Linked DNA regions of Homo sapiens: region 2 is linked to region 1. Evidence: promoter capture Hi-C in human tissues and cell types (Jung and others, 2019). All regions are on one chromosome and are shown on one strand. Each heading gives the region's core, a stretch centred on a gene start or on the middle of the fragment in contact. The rest is flanking DNA. Distances are from core to core; before and after follow the strand shown.

What was found. Contacts are between HindIII fragments. The study calls those that stand out against the background at their distance.
Region 2: a fragment that was not itself captured here is called in contact with the fragment with the promoter of CNNM1 in region 1 in 4 of the 25 tissues and cell types used here (bladder, dorsolateral prefrontal cortex, mesenchymal stem cells and 1 more).

What each region holds. Positions count from the first base shown.
Region 1 is chr10:99,326,394-99,331,569 of GRCh38, forward strand. It overlaps CNNM1 (cyclin and CBS domain divalent metal cation transport mediator 1), which reads left to right and starts at 2,963. Exons shown (of 11, transcript NM_020348.3): 1 at 2,963-4,567. The coding sequence starts at 2,995. The HindIII fragment of the contact is 11,915 bases long and covers 1-5,176 here.
Region 2 is chr10:98,436,384-98,441,867 of GRCh38, forward strand. The region is part of intron 3 of HPS1 (HPS1 biogenesis of lysosomal organelles complex 3 subunit 1); the gene reads right to left. Among named protein-coding and RNA genes, the nearest start is that of HPS1-AS1, 7.2 kb to the right of the region's middle. The HindIII fragment of the contact is 6,299 bases long and covers 1-4,563 here.

The DNA.
Region 1 (5,176 bases), core at 1,713-4,212:
GGGTGGCTCACGCCTGTAATCCCAGCACTTTGGGAGGCCGAGGCAGGTGGATCACCTGAAGTCAGGAGTTTGAGACCAGCCTGGCCAACATGGTGAAACCCCATCTCTACTAAAAACACAAAAATTTGCCAGGTGTGGTGGCACACTCTTGTAATCCCAGCTACTTGGGAGGCTGAGACAGGAGGATTGCTTGAACCCAGGAGGTGGAGGTTGCAGTGAGCCAAGATCGCGTCACTGCACTCCGGCCTGGGTGACAGAGCATGACTCCGTCTCAATAAAAAAAAAAAAAGAAAGAAAGAAAGGAAGAAAAACAATCATATGGTTGACCCCAGTTCTCTCCTTCCCTTATACTTCGAATAAATGCCTCAATGTTCCCTCATAAGATTAAACCTCCCTTCTGTCTCTTAAGTAGCCCATGCAAAAAGCAGCTTATAGTGGACAGGATCTAGTGTATTCTGAGACAATGGCATGTCACAAATGCCACGGAAAATGAGATTTCACACATAGGGATGATTTTACACTAAACCCAGGTGCCAAGGGTGGTATGTAAAATAACTCTTCCTTTTTAATTTATTAATTATTTTTAGAGACAAGGTTTCATGCTGTTGCCCAGGCTGGAGTGCAGTGATGCGATTATAGCTCACTGCAGCTTCGAATTCCTGGGCTCAAGTGATCCTCTTGCTGCAGCCTCCCAAGTAGATGAAACTACAGGCATGTGTCGCCATGCCTGGCTAATTTTTTTTAATTTTTAATTTTTTAGAGACAGGGCCTCCCTACATTGTTCCGGCTGGTCTCTAACTCCTGGCCTCAAGAGATCCTCCCACTTCAGCCTACCAAGTAGTTAGGATTACTATATTTTAAAATGTAATACAGACTTATGATAAATTTACCCAAGAGAAATAAAAATTTATGTTCTCACAAAAACCATCACACAAATGTTCATAGCCACTTTATTAATAATTGCTAAAAACTGGAAATAACTTAAATATCCTTTATTGAATGGATAAACAAACAGTGACACATCCATATAATGGAATGCTACTCAGCCATACAAAAGGATGAACTACTGAAAATCACAACAACATAGATGAATCGTAAATGCATTATGCTAACTTAGTAAAGGAAGGGAGAACCCAAAAGGCTACAGACTGTATTCTCCATTTATATGATAATCCGGAAAAGAAAACTATAGGGGAGAACAGATCAGTAGTTCCCAGAGGATAAGACGAAGGGAGGGGTTGACTACATACAATAGGACGGTAAGAGAATTTGGGGGGTGGTGGTGATGGAATTACTTTTTATTGTGATGTTTACATGTATATGCATTTGTCAACATTCATAGAACAGTACACCAAAAAGTGAATTTTACTATATAAAGTTTAAAAATAAATGCATAAAAATAATATAGTCGAGTAAATTCAAACAATATAAGGAATTTAATAAGAAAGTCTCCCTCCCAGATCTTGGTGATAATAGATCTGTATTTTGAGTGCAGTGATGGTCACATACATCCATACATGTGATAAAATGATAGAGAACTATATACACACATTACACCAATATCAACTTCCTGCTTTTGATATTGTACTATAATTAAGATGTAACCCGCCAGGCACGGTGGCTCATGCCTGTAATCCCAGCACTTTGCGAGGCCGAGGCAGGCGGATCACCTGAGGTCAGGAGTTCGAGACCAGCCTGGCCAACGTGGTGAAACCCCGTCTCTACCAAAAAAAAAAAAAAAAAAAATTAGCCGGGCGTGATGGCGGGCGCCTGTAATCCCAGCTACTCAGGAGGCTGAGGTAGGAGAATCGCTTGAACCTGGAAAGCGGAGGTTGCAGTCAGCCGAGATCGCGCCATTGCACGTCAGCCTGGGTGACAAGAGCGAAACTCCGTCTCAAAATAAATAAATTAATTAAAAGATGTAAACGGCGGGTCGCGGTGGCTCACGCCTGTAATCCCAGCACCCTGGGAGGCCGAGGCAGATGGATCATTTGAAGTCAGGGATTCGAGACCAGCTTGGCCAACATGGTGAGACCCCATCTCTACTAAAAATATAAAAATTAGCTGGGCGCGGTGGCGCACGCCTGTAATCCCAGCTACTCAGGAGGCTGAGGTAGGAGAATCGCTTGAACCCGGGAGGTGGAGGTTGCAGTGAGCCAAAATTGTGCCACTGCACTCCACCCTGGGCGACAGAGCAAGACTCCATCTCAAAATAAATAAATAAATAAATAAATCTCATATAAGTGTGTGTGTGTGTACAAATTTATACATAAATACTTTTAACACAAATGGTAGCATATTATACTTGCTGTTCTGCACCTTACTTTGTTTCTACAATTACTTTGGAGATTTTTTTCCGTATCACATATACAACAGATCCACCGCATTATTTTTTATTGCCGCATAGTATTCCATTGCACAGTGGTTTCACTTATTTCAACAGTTTCTTATTGATGGACATTCGGATCTTAACTAAGAATTGAACTTAAATAATCCAGAAATGTTTACAATAATGAAAGGTCGGCTGGAGTTGAGGCTAAAAGTTTTCACATATTCAAGACTTGACTCCAGAATATTCTTTTGACCAGAAGGGGGAATGCAAGTGGCAGGAGAAGCGAAAAGCTGGGAAATTTCCCGGGCCAATGGGGAAGCAGTGGAGCCGGCAGGGAATTACTGCCGGGTAGGAGTTCGCAGAGGAGCACCTTACTTTTGGAGTAGGAGGCCATGCTGCAAACCCAGACTTTTCAGGCTGCATCTCAGATATACCGAAGTGTGTACCCGCTACGCACAGTGCGGTGATGCCTGGCCACCTCCAGCCTCCAGCGGGGACCTCCTGCCCAGGTGGAGTCTGAATGCCCACCGCCACCAGCCCACGCGCGCAGTGGGCGTACACGTGGTGACCTGCCTGCGGCTGGGTTCCCAGCTCCGGCTCCTCCTCCCTCCAGCTCTCGCTCGGCTTCCTGCAGTATCACGTGCAGCTGCGCTGGGTGCAGGATGGCGGCGGCCGCGGCGGCGGCAGCAGCGGTGGGTGTCAGGCTCCGGGACTGCTGCAGCCGAGGCGCTGTGCTCCTGCTCTTCTTTTCCCTGTCTCCTCGGCCCCCGGCCGCCGCCGCCTGGCTGCTGGGCCTGCGGCCCGAGGACACTGCTGGAGGCCGCGTGTCCCTGGAGGGGGGCACCCTGCGCGCCGCCGAAGGCACCAGCTTCCTCCTGCGTGTCTATTTCCAGCCAGGACCGCCGGCCACCGCCGCACCGGTGCCCTCACCGACCCTCAACTCGGGGGAGAATGGCACCGGCGACTGGGCTCCGCGGCTCGTGTTCATCGAGGAGCCCCCGGGCGGTGGCGGCGTGGCCCCCAGCGCGGTCCCCACTCGCCCCCCGGGACCGCAGCGCTGCAGGGAGCAGAGCGACTGGGCATCGGACGTGGAAGTCCTGGGGCCCTTGCGTCCCGGGGGCGTGGCAGGCTCGGCCCTGGTCCAGGTGCGAGTGCGGGAGCTGCGCAAGGGCGAAGCGGAGCGGGGCGGCGCGGGCGGTGGCGGGAAGCTCTTTTCACTCTGCGCCTGGGATGGGCGCGCGTGGCACCACCACGGCGCCGCCGGCGGCTTCCTGCTGCGCGTTCGCCCGCGGTTGTACGGCCCAGGCGGGGACCTGCTGCCCCCTGCGTGGCTGCGGGCGCTCGGGGCGCTCCTGCTGCTAGCCTTGTCGGCCCTGTTCAGCGGCCTGCGCCTGAGCCTGCTGTCGCTGGACCCGGTGGAGTTACGGGTGCTGCGGAACAGCGGCTCGGCCGCCGAGCAGGAGCAGGCGCGCCGCGTGCAGGCCGTTCGCGGCAGGGGGACCCATCTGCTCTGCACCCTACTCCTGGGCCAAGCCGGAGCCAACGCGGCCCTGGCTGGCTGGCTGTACACCTCGCTGCCGCCGGGCTTCGGGGGCACCGGGGAAGACTACAGCGAAGAGGGGATCCACTTCCCGTGGCTGCCGGCGCTCGTGTGCACCGGCGCGGTATTCCTGGGCGCCGAAATCTGCCCCTACTCAGTGTGTTCGCGGCACGGGCTGGCCATCGCCTCGCACAGCGTGTGCCTGACCCGGCTTCTGATGGCAGCCGCCTTCCCCGTGTGCTACCCGCTGGGCCGCCTGCTGGACTGGGCGCTGCGCCAGGAGATAAGCACCTTCTACACGCGGGAGAAGTTGCTGGAGACGTTGCGGGCCGCAGACCCCTACAGTGACCTGGTGAAGGAGGAGCTCAACATCATACAGGGTGCCCTGGAGCTGCGCACCAAAGTTGTGGAGGAGGTGCTGACCCCCCTGGGAGACTGCTTCATGCTGCGCTCAGACGCGGTGCTCGACTTCGCCACTGTCTCCGAGATCCTGCGCAGCGGCTACACTCGCATCCCAGTGTACGAGGGTGACCAGCGGCACAACATTGTGGACATTTTATTTGTCAAGGACTTGGCCTTCGTGGACCCCGACGACTGCACCCCGCTCCTCACTGTCACCCGCTTCTACAACCGGCCCCTGCATTGTGTTTTCAATGACACCCGACTGGACACGGTTCTGGAGGAGTTTAAGAAGGGTGAGCAGTAGTCTATCTTCTCCCCCAACTCCTATCCCCTTCAAAGGTATTATCCTTTCCTAACCACGTGAGGCTCTAGGTACCCAAAGCAATTTCTCTCCTATGGTACTAAAAACCCAAGGAAGACTCTACCTCTTGGCTCCCTGGCTATTTTCATCTCACTTCTGCCTCACTTCTTGCTCCTGATTGAGCCCCAGGCCTCTTTCCTCTCTACTTGATTCACAAGATGCACCATATTCCTTATTTGTTCCATTCTACCAGGTTTTTCCAAGGCCTACCAAATGTCAGATACTGTGTAGGTGGGAGATAGCCCTTGAAGGTCATTGCATAGCTCCCCACCTATTACAGGAGACACCTCTGCAGGTTCCCATACAAGCAGCCTTTGCTTTAAACTCCTCCCAGGGCCGAAAGCTCACTATTTACAGAGCAAACTAATTCCATTGCTGGACAGCTCCAGTGGCTGACAATGTTTCCTCATATAGAGCAGAATTTGTGTCTCCAAATCCTTCTACCTCTTCTGCCTTTTGAATCATGTAGACTAAACCCAGACACCTTAGACGTTCTTCCCCATACTTAATTTCCCATCAGGTATTGATTGCACACATATCA
Region 2 (5,484 bases), core at 164-2,663, 890 kb before region 1:
AATGTGAATGCATAGAAAAAACGAAGTATTGATAAAATACTGAGAAAGCCAACACTATTAAAGTTACTTCTGGATAGAGGAATTAGGAGTGATTTTTTTCCCTCTATTTTTAAGTATGTTTCTGTACTTTTCCTATTTTCCATAACAAGCCTGCATTGACTTTGATAAGCTCTTCCTCCATCCATTCTCTCAGCTCTCCAAAAGAAGGAACAAAACAAATAAACAAAAACAAAAAGGAACTGGACAAGTTTGTTGCAAATGTGTGAATAAAATGGGATAAAGCCAGTGGAACAGTTACAACTCAAATTCTCCGTAGTGGAATAAAAAGAAAGGAAGAAAACAGCAGACTTCCCAAGAAGATTTCAGGAGACGTGAATGAAATATGGGGAAGGCACAGTCCTAACTTGGAGCTGGGGAAGTCTACAAGAAGCTGAGTAAGACCTTGCCTTGAAAAGAAAGACAGGCAACTGGCCAGCGGGAAGGTGCAGCATTGAAGTACAAGTGGGACACAGCACTATGGAGTAGGTTTTCCTGCCAACATTCGGGAACCAAGGACTGTACCCAGCTCCCACAGTTAGTCTGTCCAGCTTTCACAGTGGCTCCTACTTATCATTCTGGTTCCAGCTCAGATTTTTTTTTTTCTGGCCACCTCAGGCTACCGCCCTCCACCTCTGTCACTCCCCATCCCATACCCCATTTAACTTCTCCAGACTATTTGTCACTATCTGAACTCATGGTACTTATTTGCCATCTGGTTCACTGTACAATGTCCTTCTTTAGACTCTAAGTTCCATGAAAGCAAGGATCATGTTGCTACGTTTACTGCTTTACCCCGAGAGACTGGCACATGGTAGGTTCCCAATTAATATTTGGTTAATGAATACCCCACAGATAGGCGAGAATTCCATAAACAGGCAAGAATTCAAATATTTGCTGAATTATTCATATACCATGATTTTCTTGAACAAATTTTATTAATAGAGAAGTCACTTATGAATCTAGATGTTGATAGAAACTCATCGTAAAAGCAGTATAGTCACATACTGAAGAGCAATGTTTTGGTCAGCAACAGACCACGCATGATAGTGGCCCCATAAGATTATACTGCTTTATTTTTGCTATACCTTCTCTATGTTCATTCAGATACACAAACATTTCCATTGTGTTACAACTGCCTGCAGTATTCAGTACAGTCACATGCTGTAGGTTTGCAGCCTAGGAGCAACAGGCCATACTGTACAGCCTAGGTGTGTAGTTGGCTACACCATCTAGGTTTGTGTAAGCACACACTATGATGTTCACATGACAAGGAAATCACCTAATGATGAGTTTGTTATTAACAGAATGTATCACCATCATTAAGCAGGGCATGACTATAGCTTTTTCTGCAGGAATAGAACTTTTTTTTGGTGAGGGGATGACATGGTTAAGCTTTGTGTCCCCATCAAATCTCATCTTGACTTGTAATCCCCATAATCCCCACGTGTCAAGGGAGACCTGGTGGAGATAACTGAATCATGGGGGTGGTTCCCCCAGGCTGTTCTCAACTTGTTCTCATGAAAATGAGTGAGTCCTCACCAGATCTGATGGTTTTATAAGGGGCTCTTCCCCACTTTTCTTGACACTTCTTCCTGCTGCCTTGCGAAGAAGGTGCCTTGTTTCCCCTTTGCCTTCCACCACGACTGTAAGTTTCCTGAGTTCTCCCCAGCCATGCTGAACTGTGAGTCAATTAAACCTTTTTTCTTTATAAATTACCCAGTCTCAGGCAGTTCTTTATAGTGGTACGAAAACGGACTGACACAGTAAATTGGTACCACAGAGAGTGAGGTGCTACTATAAAGATACCCAAAAATGTGAAAGTGACTTTGAAACTGGGTAACAGGCAGAGGTTGGAACAGTATGGAGGGCTCAGAAGAAAACAGGAAGATGTGGGAAAGTTTGGAACTTCCCAGAGACTCATTGAATGCTTTTGAACAAAATTCTGATAGTGATATGGACAATGAAGTCCAGGCTGAGGTAGTCTCAGATGGAGATGAGGAACTTATTTGGAACTGGAACAAAGGTGACTCTTGTTATGCTTTAGCAAAGAGACCGGCAGCATTTTGCCCCTGCCCTAGAGATCTGTGCAACTTTGAACTTGAGAGAGATGATTTGGGGTGGAAGAAATTTCTAGGTAGCAAAGCATTCAGGGAGTGACTTGGGTGCTCTAAAAAGCACTCAGTTTTATGCATTCACTAATAGATGGTTTGGAATTGGGACTTATGTTTAAAAGGGAAGCAGAACATAAAAGTTTGGAAAATGTGCAGCCTGATGATGCAATAGAAAAGAAAAGCCCATTTTCTGAGGAGAAATTCAAGCCCTGGCTGCAGAAATTTGCATAAATAATGAAGAGCCAAACGTTAATCACCAAGACAATGGGAAAAATGTCTCCAGGGCCTGTCAGAGGTCTTCACAGCAGGCCCTCTCGCCACAGGCCTGGAGGCCTAGGAAGAAAAAACTGTTTCAGGGGTTGGGCCCAGGGCCTTGCTGCTTTGTGCACTCTGGGGACATGGTGCCCTGCGTCCTAGCCATGGCTAAAAGGTGCCAACATATAGCTCTGGCTGTTGTTTCAGACAGTGCAAGCCCCAAGCTTTGGTGACCTACATGTGGTATTGGGCCCACGGGTGCACATAAATCAAAAACTGAGGTTTGGGAACCTCCACCTAGATTTCAGAGGATGTATGGAAATGGCAGGATGTCCAGGCAGAAATTTGCTACAGGGGCAGAGCCCTCATGGAGAACCTCTGCTAGAGTGATTAAGGGAATGTGGGGTCAGACACCTCCACACAGAGTCCCCACTGGGGCATTGCCTAGTGGAGCTGTAAGAATAGGGCCATCATCCTCTAGCCCCCAGAATGGTAGATCCACCGACAGCTTGCACCATGCACCTGGAAAAGCCGCAGACACTCAACACCAGCCTGTGAAAACAGCTGGGAAGAGGACTGTGCCCTGCAGAAGCACAGGGGTAGGGCTGCCCAAGGCCTTGGGAGCCCACCTCTTGTATCAGTGTGACCTGGACGTGGATAGAGTCAAAGGAGATCATTTCAAAGCTTTAAGATTTGACTGCCCCACTGGATTTTGGACTTGCATGGGTCCTGTAGCCCCATAGTTCCAATTTCTCCCATTTGGAATGGGAACATTTACCCAATGCCTATACCCCCATTGTGTCTTGGAAGTAACTTGTTTTTTATTTTACAGGGTCATAGGTGGAAGGGACTTGCCTTGTCTCAGGTGAGACTTCAGTCTTGGACTTTTTGGTTAATGCTGGAATGAATTATGACTTTGGGGAACTGTTGGGAAGGCATGATTGGTTTTGAAATGTAAAAGGGACATGAGATTTGGGAGGGTCCTGGGGCAGAATGATATGATTAGGCTTTGTGTCCCCATCCAAATCTCATCTTGAATTGTAATCCCCATAATCCCCACAATCCTCATATGTCAACGGAGAAACCAGGTGGAGGTAATTGAATCATGGGAGCAGTTTCCCCCATGCTGTTCTTGTGACAGTGAGTTCTCATGAGATCTAATGGTTTTATAAGAGGCTCTTTCCCCTTCACTCAGCACTTCTCCTTCCTGCTGCCTTGTGAAGAAGGTGTCTTGCTTCCCCTTTGCCTTTTGACATGATTGTAAGTTTCCTGAGGCCTCCACAGCCTTCTGAACTGTGAGTCAATTAAACTTCTTTCCTTTACAGAGTACCCAGTCTTGGGCATTTCTTTATAGTGGTAAGAAAATGGACTAATACAGGGGAGATAAAAATATTTGGTGTATATAAAGGAGCATACTCATATATTACTTGGCGGAATTATAAAGTAGTACAATATCTTTGAATGGCTTTTGACTCAACATTTTTATTTTTAGGAATTTATCCTAAATTTATCCTAGGAATTTATCTGACATGAGATAAAATTTAAGCACAAATGTTTCTTAAAGCAAGAGTGATATAGCAAATTAGGAGCAATATTTATGTCCATATGAGGAAAATGGTTAAATAAAGGATGATACACTGATTCATGTACTGGAGTACAATGTTTCCATTAAGAATTATGCTTCTGAGACTATTTAAAAAAATAGAAGAAATATCTTGATATAATGGCAAGTGGAAAAAAAAACAGGCAGTAAAACTGTAAATGTGGTATAATCCCAATTATATAGAAAAAATAAAGACCCAAAGAAAGTATATTAAAAAGCTAATAGCTCTGGGTCATGGAATTATAGGTCATTTAAAAACTATCTCTTTGTATTTCCAAATTTCCTACAATTAACTCATTATTTATATGATGAGAAAAGAATGTGTTGCACATTAACAAAAAAAAAAAACTTTAAAGACCACCTTTCCTTTACACTACTCATTTTTAGGAACTGAAAATTCAGGAGTTCGTTCCTTTGCCAGGTTTTCAATAAAGAGGAAGAGAAAGGCCACCAAATAGTTTGCTTCTTAAGTTGACATAGTTGTAACAGTAGTTTAAAAACTGAAATATTTAAAAATTCTTAATTTAAATATTATATGTATTGACTGTTAAAAAATAAAAAAGCCTAACAGTTAGCTTAAATAAAACCACTTGAATGTCTATGATCTCTGATATCTTGTGTTTGCCTAAAGACTGTGATGAGAACACGAGTGATGTTGATGGTAAATGGACTCCCTGAGGTGGAGTCAGCTCACTCATTGGCTGGATGATGAGACCCCTTAGAGCAGAAAGGGACAGAGAGGCAATCAGCCCATGCTGCAGAAATGTAAGAACACCTTCCACTGCATCCCCAGTAAAAATATTTTTAACCCAAAATTAATCTGGAAAACATTTTCAAAATAAATTACTCCTTTAAAATGTAGAGTGGAAATTATGTAAGTGAAAATGACAAGTATTTCTGAGTTGTAATGTTAAACTGTTGAACTGGATGTCCACATGCAAAAAAAAAATTATCTTCAATCCATAGCTCATACCACACACAAAAATTCAAAGTAGATCATCAGACCTGATATAAAACCTAAAACTATAAAACTTTCAAAAGAATATGTAGAGAAAACTCTTTGTAAGTTGGGCAAAGATTTCTTAGATATAACACTAAAAGCATAATCCATAAATGCAAAATGGATAAACTCGAGTTCTAATACTTCTGCTCTTTGAAAGATACCATTGAGAATACAAACACAAGCCACAAACTGAAAGAAAATATTTGTAAAACATGTATCTGATAAAGGATTCCATCCAAAATATATTAGAAGCTCTCAAAACTCAGTAAGAATAAGAAGAAGAAACAATCAACTCAAATAAAAACTGGGCAAAAGATATGGCAAATAAGCACATGAAAAGATGCTCAAAAGCATTAGTCATTAAGGAAATGAAATTTAAAACACAGTGAGATTCTAGTGAACATCTATTAGAATGGCTAAAATTAAAAAGACGGACTATAGTGTTGGTGAGGATATGGAGGAACTGAACTCTC